3 separate regions of the Homo sapiens genome follow, and regions 1 and 3 are each linked to region 2. The links are contacts of gene promoters, found by promoter capture Hi-C in blood cells and fetal thymus (Javierre and others, 2016). All regions are on one chromosome and are shown on one strand. Each heading gives the region's core, a stretch centred on a gene start or on the middle of the fragment in contact. The rest is flanking DNA. Distances are from core to core; before and after follow the strand shown. Region 1 has its middle 15 kb from the start of ZNF397. Region 2 holds the start of ZNF396 (zinc finger protein 396). Region 3 has its middle 39 kb from the start of ZNF397.

Evidence for each region. Contacts are between HindIII fragments. The CHiCAGO score rates a contact against its expected background, and 5 or more counts as called.
Region 1: a fragment that was not itself captured here is called in contact with the fragment with the promoter of ZNF396 in region 2 in 2 of 17 cell types (neutrophils and total B cells); the score reaches 6.1 in neutrophils.
Region 3: a fragment that was not itself captured here is called in contact with the fragment with the promoter of ZNF396 in region 2 in 1 of 17 cell types (total B cells); the score reaches 5.4 in total B cells.

The regions. Positions count from the first base shown.
Region 1 is chr18:35,223,921-35,227,869 of GRCh38, reverse strand. No RefSeq gene overlaps it. Among named protein-coding and RNA genes, the nearest start is that of ZNF397, 15 kb to the left of the region's middle. The HindIII fragment of the contact is 5,659 bases long and covers 1-3,949 here.
Region 2 is chr18:35,375,528-35,379,645 of GRCh38, reverse strand. ZNF396 (zinc finger protein 396) reads left to right here and starts at 2,309. Exons shown (of 4, transcript NM_001322286.2): 1 at 2,309-2,368. RefSeq lists silencers at 2,524-2,593, 2,604-2,793. The HindIII fragment of the contact is 6,702 bases long and covers 951-4,118 here.
Region 3 is chr18:35,200,206-35,204,092 of GRCh38, reverse strand. No RefSeq gene overlaps it. Among named protein-coding and RNA genes, the nearest start is that of ZNF397, 39 kb to the left of the region's middle. The HindIII fragment of the contact is 158 bases long and covers 2,310-2,467 here.

The sequences.
Region 1 (3,949 bases), core at 1,335-3,834, 150 kb after region 2:
TGATCTTGGCTTACTGCAACCTCCACCTCCCAGGTTCAAGCGATTCTCATGCCTCAGCCTTCCGAGCAGCTGGGATTACAGGCATGTGCCATCACATCTGGCTAATTTTTGTATTTTTTGTAGAGACATGGTTCTGCCATGTTGGCCAAATTGGTCTTGAACTCCTGGCCTCAAGGGATCTGCCTTCCTTGGCCTCCCAAAGTGCTGGCAAGGCAGAAGAATAGGGTCTGGAGGCAGAGAACCTAAGGCCAATTCACACTGACTTCCTAGAAGTAAAGCAAAAGGAAAGGACCAGAGGCTATTCCCTTTGTATTGCCCCTGCTTTTCTGCCTGGCAGATGAAAAATTGAAAGTACCTCTGATTGGTCCCCTCATGCAACCAATCAGGCTGGTAGTGGGCCAAGTCTTCATTTGCATAGGAGTATAACTTTGTAACTTCACTTAAGCCTCTGATTGGTTGCTTTCCAAAACCAATCAGACGTTTGCATAGGATGTAACTCTGTAACTTCACTTCAGCCTTTGATTGGCTGCTTTCTGCAACCACTAGGACTGGTTCATTTACATAGGGTGTACATCAAGTCACCAACAGGAAATTTCTACAGGGTATTTAAGCCCCAGAAAATTATTTAACTGGGGCTCTTAAGCCCCTATGCTCAGGCCCATTCCTGCCCTGTGGAGTGTACTTTTGTTTTCAATAAATCTCTGCTTTTGTCGATTCATTCTTTCCTTGCTTTGTTTGTGCATTTTGTCCAATTCTTTGTTCAAGACGCCAAGAATCTGGACACCCTCCACCAGTAACACTGGGATTACAGGCATGAGCCAGGGCTCCTGGCCTCTAAGTCAATTTTTATTTCTGTAGGTCTATAAGTTTTGGGAATACAGTTCCCTCCTGCTTTTAAATTGTGTATTTAAAATGAAAGGAAAAGTTGCCAGTTTGGAATGAATAAAATAAATAAATAAATAAATAAACAAATAAACAAGCACACACACACAGAGTACACACATATAATGACCTGCTGGAATATTTTTCTCAAACTTTAGTTACTCCTGTAATGAACTGCAGATCTTTGATATTTTTCTACTATTCACCTGTCTACTGCAAAGCCTTTTTCTCCTCTCCTACAATTGCTTACCTTCATTGTTATCTTTTTCTTATGTTTTATGTTCCTTTAATATAGTATGGCATTGCTAGGTCTCAGAATTTTATATGGTTCAATTGTTAATACCTTTAAGATTTGCAAAAAATTATACGATGTTCATGTTTTATTTTATTTTACTTTACCATTATTAGTTTTTTAGACAAGGCCTGGCTCTGTCACCCAGAGTGTAGTGGCACAATCATGGCTCACTGCAGCTTTCGCCTTCTGGGCTCAAGGATTCTCCTGCTTCAGCCTCCCAAGTATCTGGGATTGAAGGTATGTGCCCCCACACCTGGCTAATTTTTGTATTTTTTGTAGAGTCGGAGACTTGACATGTTGCCCAGACTGGTCTTGAACTCCGGAGCTCAAGCAATCTTTCCACCTCAACTTCCCAAAGTGCTGGGATTATGGCATGAGCCACTGCGCCAAGCCCATTGTTCGTATTTTAAAGTAAATTTTAACTAATTTCTTAGACAGCTGAATGGGAAGTCATCTTTCAGCATTTTAATCCAGGGGCTTTTTGTAGTATCTTAAGTCTCCTGGTCTCCGATTAGAAGGTGTTTTCCAGAATATTTTCAGTCTAAAAAAGAATCTCTTGGGATATTTTTTAGTGGAGGTTAAAATGAATAAAATAACATTTTCTCATCTGCTTAAATGTTGTTGTAATCCAATTTTTGAACAGATAAATTTTTTAATGGTTCAAAAAATTGCAAAAGGTATAAGATGAAAAATTGTAATTACCTATTCATTTCCCACTTACCTGCCTACCCTCTGGATAGCCAGCATAATTGGTTTATTATAAGTCATTCCAGAGTTTCTTTATGTCTGCAGAAGCAATGAAAAAATACGTTTCCTTATTCTACCCCTTTTACTCAAAAGGTAGCATACTATACACCCGGTTTTCACTTTGCTTTTTAGAAAGCTAATAATATACCTAAAGATCTTTCCATATTATTTACTTAAAGAGCTTTCTCAGTTTTTTTACAATTGCCTAATATTCTATAACATATAATTTATTAAACCATAATTTATTCAATCAGCCTCCTAGTGATGAAAATTTAGGTTGTTTCCAATGTTTCACTGTTATAAGCAACGTTATAAGAAATAACCATATGCATTTCAAAAGAAGATTATTGACCTGTTATTGTGTTATATGAGTATTTTTTCCTCTTTTTTTTTTTCAGTTTTTGGATTTGTTTTTGTTTTTACCATGCAGAACTTCTTGATTTTCACATAGTGAATTTTATTATTTGTTTCTTCTATGGGTTCTTCATTTTGTGTCATGGTTAGAAAAGTCTTTCTTACTTCAAGATTATAAAAAAAATTATATTTTCTTCTAGAATTTTATTGTTATATTTTCACATCTAAATATTTGATCCATTTAGAATTTGTCCTGATGTAGAATGTGGGTGTAACATATATATTTTTCTAGGTGGCTATCTAATTATTACAATGCCATTTATTAAATAGTTCATCGTTCCCCCCATTAATTTCAGATGACAACCTTTTCATATACTAACTCCCCATATGCGCTTGACTTATTTCTTGGCTTCATGTTTTATTCTTTTCCTCTGGATTTGTCTGGCTATACATGTGCCACTTTTCCTAATTGTCTTTTGAGCTATTAAACATTAATATGGTTTTCATTTATTTTTGTTTGATGAATAACAAGGGGTTGTAAGCATCCTGTGCTTTGGAAGGCATATTTTGATCATTAAGGTAAGGTGTGAATAAAGTCAGATGATAAGCCTGCTTGTGCCTGCACCTTGGCATACTCAGTGTCTAGTCCTTTTGTGTTTATCCTGAAGGACAATGTTTTCTAAGATGTGATGGAGAAATGCTGAAAACATTTTATTAGTCATGTAGGCTCTGGATAATAGTTGTATAATTTGGACATGCACTAGATCATGCAAATAATCAAAGATTGAAAGAAGGATTGATCTTGCCCAGCTCTACAACACAGGAAAAACAGAAATATAAGAGTAATCACTTAGTACTCACAGAACGGTTTTTCTTTTATTTTTTTTTCTTTTTTATTTATTTTATTATTTTGACTTTTAAGTTCAGGGGTACAAGTGATTTGTTACAAAGGTAAACTTGTGTCATGGAGGTTTGTCATACAGATTATCACCCAGATATTAAGCCTAGTACTCATTAGTTATTTTTTAAGATCTTCTCCCTTCTCCTACCCTTCACCCTCCAAAAGGCCCCTGTTTGTGTTGTTCTCCACTATGTGTCCATGTGTTCTCATCATTTAGCTTCCACTTATAACTGAGAACATGTGGTATTTGGTTTTTTTGTTCCTGTGTTAGTTTGCTAAGGATAATGGCCTCCAGCTCCATCCATGTCCCAGCAAAGGACATGATTTTGTTCTCTTTTGTGGATGCATAGTATTCCATGGTATATATGTACCACATTTTCTTTATCCAATCTGTCATTGATGGGCATTTGACTTGGTTTCATGTCTTTGCTATTGTGAATAGTGCTGCAAAAACATACACATGCATGTGTCTTTATGGTAGAATGATTTATATTCCTTTGGGTATAATGGGATCCCAGTAATGGGATTGCTGATTGAATGGTATTTTTGTCTTTATGTCTTTGAGGAATCACCACACTGTCTTCCACAATGGCTGAACTAATTTACACTCCCGCCAACAGTGTATAAGCTATCCCCTTTCTCCACAGCCTCACCAGCATCCGTTATCTTTTGATTTTTTTTAATAATAACAATGTCAGCAAAAAGTCTCAGGATACAAAATTAATGTGCAAAAGTCACTAGCATCCCCATACACCAACAATAGTTAAGCC
Region 2 (4,118 bases), core at 1,060-3,559:
ATACTCTGTTGTTTAACTTCCCTGAATGACACATTATGTACCCAATCATCTGTCAGTCTTCCATCTAAGCAAGCACCAGCCTCCCAAGTGTTTCCAGAATCTGCCTCCATTCTCGTCCCCTCTGTGCTAGTTCAGACCTTCACCAGCTGCAGCCTGGATCTTTGCAACAGCTTCAGAGCTGGTAACCCTGTCTTGAGTTTTGCCTCCCTTCAGATCTATCCTTCGTGTTGCTATCAGAGAGCCCTACCTGAATTGCAGATGTGCACATGCCACTAATTCAAGTTTCTGCTTAAAACCTTAGTTCATAGCCCTTTACTTGGCCTGTCAAACCCTTTAAAACTAGGCTGCTGTTTGCCTCTTCAGCCTCATCCTCAGCCACTCATCCTGCTGTCCTTTAATCCAGCAAATCTAAACAACATCCCACACTGGTACCTCAGTCTCAAATGTATCAACACCAGCTTTCTCCATCAACTCCAATCCCAGTCTCTACCCAGGACCTCCCTTTCTTTGTGCTTTTATAGTATCCTGCAGTTGTCTCCATCAGAATGTTGCCACATTGTTTAGAAAAGTCAATTTATTCATCTTTCTCTTTACTTAGTCTATTAGCCCCTAAAGGGCAAGAATCTATATTTTACCATTGAATTCCCGGTGTTTACGATACAACTGGTATATAGTAGGTGCTCACCCTACTGGGACCTTATTCCTGCTAATTTCTTTTCACTTTACCCCCAAAATTTTTAAAAAATTAAAACAGCAAACAAAAACCTGTTCTTGCTCTAACTACCTGACTGTGAAACTTTTCTAATCAATCTTTTATGTCTGCTCCCTTTTTTGTTGTTGCTGTTTTTAACTTTGGCCTCTGATATCTGGCTGTTTGGTGGACCATACCCATGAATTCATCATCCCTGACCTCTTGCCACATCCCACAGTTCCTCCTTCTCCTTGAAGCTTCTGACTGTCGTTCATATTCTCCTTAAATTGTCTCCTGTGACTTCACACCACTGCCAAGCCTTGCCCTCGTTTCAAATTCTCCCCTGACGTGAGTCATTTAACCTACCCTACCCACCAGCGCCAGAAACACATTCCCACCTGCACTTTTGGGCTGTTTGCTATTTGTGTTGGCAGCTGCATCAGCAAAAAGTCTTATCCTGTGAAAGCCCCTTGTTTGAAGCAAGAATTTCTTCAGATTTAGTTTTACTGTACTCTAATTGGGATCCAAACCTCTCCCTAGTCCCCTAGCGTCATAAACTGAGTAAACCAGCCTCTTCTTTCTTCACTTCAGATTCCAGTACTAACATACTTTTGGGGCGGCGTCATACCAAAAGGGATTTTTTGTTATTGTTCTTTATTAATTAGCAAGTGCTTTTCAAGCATCTCCGTCCTCTCCCTAATTCCTCAGTTACGAGTACAAGTACATTTTCCAGGAGTCCCTAGGGAAAGGGGCTAGAGAAGGAAGTCACGAGGTGGGGCTGTGGTGCATTTAGGCTTAAATTTATTTATTTATTTATTTTTTGAGACGCTCTCACTTTGCAGCCCAGGCTGGAGGGCAGTGGCGCAATCATGGCTAACTGCAGTCTCCACCTCCCCAGATTGAGGTGATCCTCACCCCTCAGCCTCCCAAGAAGCGGGGACTACAGGCATGCGTCTCTACACTCGGCTAATTTCTGTATGTTTTGTAGAGATGCGGTTTAGCCATGTTGGCCAGGCTGGTCTCGAACTCCTTGGCTCATGTGATCTGCCCATCTCGACCTCCCAAAGTGCTGGGATTACAGGCATGAGCCACCGCGCCCGGCCTCAAACTTATTTTTCAATTGAGATTAAGATTATCTGAGGAGAGATATGTGTATGTATTGTAACAAATTTTATGTGGGTCAGTTCTCACTTTTTCAAGGGCCATTGTGTTCTCCTGTGAAAGCATGGGGTTGCGGATGTCAAACTTGTCCCTTAAAACGTCAGTACTTGGGGTGTAACCACTTCGGGAGTGGGAATGGTATTAGGGATTGTACTCAGCGGTAGACAGCACAGCATTCGCCCCTCTCTGTAATCCTTGGCAAGTCACAGGACATTTGAGTTTATTTTCTGTAAAATGGGAATAACCTTACTGAGTTACCGGAGTAAATGAATAATGTAAGCAAAAGCACTTTGCGAAGCAACAATGCTAGTTTATTGAACGGAACACTGAGCAGAGCAGCTGGATTCCCACCGGTCGAGCCTCCCGGTTCTCTTTCCCTGTCCCAAGTGCGCGGCCACAGCGGCTCTTCTCCATGGCAACGTCCCCGCGTTCCGGGCCCCGCCCCGACCCGCCACCAGAACCGGAAGTTGTTGCGCAGCTGGCAGTTCCCCGGTTTCTCCCCGACGGCGTCGGGAGGTGAGACCCGAGGCCTCTTTAGGGCCCCCAGGCTGCGGTCAGAGGCGGTGGTCCCCGGGTGGTGGAAGGGGGACGCGGAGAGGCGGCCGCGGACTCGTCGCCACCCCTCCCTTCGCGCGCAAGTGCAGCACCCTTACACCGTCCCAGATCCCCAGGCCCCTCCCCTCCGCTGCCTGCCCCTGAGTCCGCGCACCCCTTCCCCTCGTCCTTCCCCGGCGGACCCCGGGCGCCTGCCCTGCCAGGTGAACCCGCGCCACCTGCCGCTTCGCCCCGGCGGTTCCCAGCCTGGGAGGCGCGCGGCGCGGCGCGGTGGGCGCGGGAGGTCGGGAGATGGTCGGAAGCCAGCCCTCCCAGAGCCGGCCCACCACAGCAGGGTAGAGCCGAGAGCGGCGTCCCCTGCAGAAAGACCCCTGCGTCCCAGGCTTTGATCGAAGCCTCCCCTCCAGGGACGTTCTTTCTGGTTGTCGTGCGGTGTCGGGGGTTCCTTACCCTCACCTCAGGTTTAGCACAGATTCTGCGCCTGGTGCTGAAGTGACAGGGCGGCCACTCTCTTCCAGAGGCTGCTTTAGCCCCGGGGTCCCTCATATATCCCTTAGGGTACCTGACGGCTCCAAACCGGTGGCCTCAACCCTTCCCACCTCTCAGGTCTTGTTCCCCAGACTCTTCTGGCCCCGCTTCATCTGGGAGCGCGGCTGCCTGCCGCCACTTCCTCCTCTGCGCTGAGACAACGCGCAGGGGTCACCACAAGGGCCCCTGCTGCCTATGGCCTCTAACCACACAGCACCATGGATAAATGTGGACGGCCTGGGTTCAGACCCCAGCTTTGCCCTTGGCCAGAGTACCTGGCTTTGCTGTGACTGCTTCCCCGTCTACAACATGGGGGTAAAAATAATCTAGGGCTTTTATGAGGATTTAACCTTTGTTTATTTTTACTAAGGTGTTCAAAACAGTGCTTGGCACATAGTAAATTCTGTTAATATGTGTGTCTGCTATTGTTTGTTTCATAGCACATCATTGTGTAAAGTTGTATCATTTATTTGGTAACAACTTTATGAACTCACAGGCTTTATACAGGGCCTAGAACAATACTTGGTGAAGTGAGAAAATAAGTCAAATGGCAGGATACATAACGATGGAAGACGGAGGCGCACGTAAGATTTTTAAAGTAGTCATCATTTGCTGAAGTTGTACAAACACTATCATATACCTCCTGCCCAATTTAAAAAATATGATTAGACCGGGTGCAGAGCCTCACGCCTGTACTCCCAGCATTTTGGGAGGCCGAGGCAGAGGGATCACCTGAGGTCAGGAGTTCGAGACCAGCCTGGCCAACATGGTGAAACCCCGTCTCTACTAAAATTATAAAAATTAGCCGGGCGTGGTGGTACACGTCTGCAATCCCAGCTACTTGGGAGGCTGAGGCAGGAGAATCGCTTGAACCCAGAAGGCAGAGGTTGCAGTGAGCCAAGATCCCGCCATTGTACTCCAGCCTGGGCAACAGGGCCAGACTCTGTCTCAAACAAAACAAAACAACAACAACAACAAAATGAGATTAGTTACTGGTGATACTTAACAGTAAAATGATACAAAGGAAAGTGCCGTCCCCCCCCAACTTTGTTGCTAACGAGCTAATAATACTTGAAGAAATCGTTGCCCTCACAAGTCACTATGATTGTGATGGTATTGTGAATTGATACAGTCTTTGTGCAATATTTTGATAATACATAGCAAGACAGAATTTGCTCTTCTC
Region 3 (3,887 bases), core at 1,139-3,638, 180 kb after region 2:
AGATTTTGTTTGTTTTTTTCTGGGATGTTTGGTATTTCTAAGCTGCTGGCTTTTCCAGCTCCACGTCTGGAATACGTGAAGAAAAAGAAAACCCAAGAAACTTATCACTGCATCTTTCTTGGATCATGTGGTCCATAGACAGGCTGCTTTTTTTTGTTCTACCTTTCAGAGTCTTTTTATGTGTATTTAATATATAATATCCAGAGATTCTAGCCATACTTAGCAGAAGGAGTGGGGAGGAATCCATCTTGTACTGGACCCAGAAACTAATAGAACAATATTTAGTATTGAATATTATTTGTATTAGAATTTGAAAAACAAAGAGTTGAGGAGCTCTCTAATATATAGTTGATTTTTTTCAAGTATTCGAAAATTCTCACTGGTGGTGTTAAAATCATGTGTCTTGAAGTCACCAGAAAAATGTCAAGAACAAAGTTTAAGATATTGGATGCAAAATGTAGATGCTTTTCTAGGGAATGAAGATGATTTATTTACCAAAAGAAAAAGACAATAGAATACAAACAAAAATACCAGCTGGGTATGCCTAGTGCTTTTTGGAATGATTACTTTCTGGGAGCTGAATAAGATAGCGCTTTGTGAAAGGAAGGGGCCTTAAAATCATTTAGGACTCCTTTCCAAAATTACACGTGCAGGGTTTTAGAGAGACACACACTCATTAGTGTTGATTGGAGTTATGTAACTCATATTACCCAGGGTATTACAGCTCGCTTTGTTAGTGTCTAATCTAGTGCCAGACTCCCCAAAGGCCCAAATCTGGCAAAGACACAGTAAAATGAAATGCAATGCTGTTTCTTAAAAAAAAAAAAAAAGAAATGCAGTCCAAGCTGTTCTCTGTAAGTTTTAAGCTTAGATTTAATCAAGTGCAGCCAAAATTATTCCACCCAGGAGCTATTATCACATTCCTTTTTTTGAAAGCAGCTAAAACCACGGAATTGTTGGCAGTCATATCCAATCCTTTAGGAAAGAAAAATTCTTATAGCCTCACAATTCCTAACTCTAACTTCCTTTTCCTGTTTAACATGTTTGTGAAGTTATTTGGGAAAAAAATGTTTGAGTGTTAATTTGTAAGTCTTCAACTTAGAACTTGCTGTGAATGAAAAGGATATTGACTCTGGGAGAAATAATTTGGAAAATTTTGGTTTTTAAGGGGAATTAATACAGAGAAATATATATATGTGTATGATTAAATATATATTATGTATGTATTATATTATTTCATATATTTATTTTATATATACAGTTAAATATATATTCCTTTTCTAGCTTTATATATGTTCATATATAAATATGTAACACATGTACATATATAAAGCTAGAAAAAGAATACAATATATATTTTATTATATATTATATTATATATTATAATATGTATTATATTCTTTACATTCCCTAGCTTTGTATATATATAAATCTAGAAAACAAAAACAAAAACAAAACCCAAGAGACTATGGCAGTAACTTCAGACTAACTTTAAAAACCACCAGTTTTTATTTATTTAAATACTTTTTGAGCTGCAACCCCTTGAAAAATTCATAGCTGGACTGAGCCATAATTCCTTTTCTACACATTTGTTTCTTCACCTGGTTTTTATAAATGTTTACATGAAAGAGAATATACTTAAAAAGTATATTAAAAAGTATACTTAAAAAGGTGTATATATTCTGCTTATACCTTGTCAGAAATATCTATGACTTTGTTTGGAATTTCTATTATATATGATAGCCACTTGCAATTTAATAAACAGGCATTTTTTTATTTGTATGGACAGTTCGCTCCAGGGAAGACCTTTTGGAGCTGATCATAAATGGTACAGGATGTGCTCATTTTAAACAAAATTAAGAAATACATGAAGGCATGTTTCTGGCCCCTTCTTAAATCTGTACCTTGTTTCTCTCTCCTGAATTCATCCACTTCTATCCTTGGGCCTTATCCCGTGGCCTGATTCTACCTTCATATGGCTGTCAACAAATTTTTGCTAACACTGACTTAAGGTGGGTCTTGAAATGATTTAAGTAAGATATAGTTTTGTGGAATCTTTTTTTTTTTAAACAAGATCACTGGAAGATGAAAAAGCATTTTTTTTTTCCTTCCACTGGGCTTTTTCCGGAGGCCAGAAGTGAAGAGTAAGTTAGCATGCCATCTAAAGGAGTGTGGAGCCCTGGTCTGTGCTTGTTTGATATAAACAGTAAGCTTTTTATGAATTGTGGAAGCCATTTCTGGGAGGAAAAGGGCTCAAACCTGAACAAATCACTGGAGTCCAGCCATACAGCGCTCTCAAGGGAAAAGCTTAAGCTAAAGGCCTTCCCTAGTTGGGCCATCAAACCAAATCAAAGTGTCTGCTCATTAAATTGCAAGTGGCCATCTGTTTGCTTAATCATGTGCTTCTCTTTCCGTCGGGCTGGTTATCACCGTCTGGTCTGGCCCCTTTTACTAATTAGCCTAAGCTTGATCTTTAGGTGAACCACAGTTTAATTTTATCTGGCATGGAATATGGGTTTATTTATTGTTCCATTTGGTTAAATCATTTGAGGGAAAAGAAAAAAGTTACTATTCTATAGTTTACAAGGACTGGTTATTTAGAATCTGGATTAATATTTGGCTTTTACATTTGAATATTCCCCAGTGAATTGTTTTATGTTATTCTTTTTCTCATTTTGGCGGTGAACATGGTAATGTTTACATTTATAGTTTTTTAGAGCTAGACAGTATTGTTTTTTGGTTTTGTTTTTTCTTTCTTTTCTTCTCATTTCTTTTCTTACTTGCTTTTTTTTTTTTTTGAGACAGGGTCTCTCTTTGTTGCCCAGGCTAGAGTGCAGTGGCACAATCATGGCTCACTGCAATCTCCACCTCTTGAGCTCAAGTGAACCTCCCACCTCAGCCTCCATAGTAGCTGGGACTACAGGTGTACACCACCATGCCCGGCTATTTTTTGTATTTTTTGTAGAGATGAGGTTTCGCCATGTTGTCCAGGCTGGTCTAGAACTCCTGAGCTCAAGCGATCTTCTAGCTTCGGCCTCCCGAATTGCTGGGATTACAGGCGTGAGCCACTGCACCCAGCCTGTTTTCTTTCTTTATTAAGCAATACATATATATATTATAACAGATCCAGTTATACAGTATAAAGGCAAAGTCTAGATAACCAAAGTTAACAGTCTGCTGTGTATCTTTTTGCAATGCTTGTTCAAATACAGACGAGTGGGATGCAATAAAGATATAAATGTAACAAATAAAGCTATATGAGAATGTTTCTATAATGTAGTGGGCGGCAATGTGGGAGTAAGGGAGGGGAGCTTTTTAAGATGGAAAACCCAAAAGCTTAGAGTCAGACTTGAGCCACATCAAAAATTTAAAGTTTCTAAAGATGATTGCCAGTTGGGGAATTGTTTATAGTGTACTTATAAATACTGCCACTGAATCAACCAATCGTTTTAGCACCATGTACTCTTAATTTTGGTTAATAAGTTTAATTCATATTATACTATTTTAATAGGCTGAATTTAAGTATATATGCTGAAAGAACCATAAGACTATTTTGTATTGACTGTAAAAATCCACGAAGTAGAATTCTTTTAAACATTCTCGAGTTCGACTTCTTTTTAAAATTCTTTTTCATTCTAGATTCCATAGATAGAAGCATGTGAGGAGATCTCAGTCTAGTTCTGTGTTGAGAGAACAAATGTCTGTGCATACGATGTTCCCTTCCTGAGCACTGTCTTATTTAACTTCCCACCAGAGAAGGACAACACTGGAGGCTCCTTTTTTCCTTAGGGTTATGATCTATACCAAGCAGCAAGACTCAGGGAAAATCATGTTTCTGCTAACAATTTACAGAAAACATAATTTAAGAATTTCTCATAATTTATAAA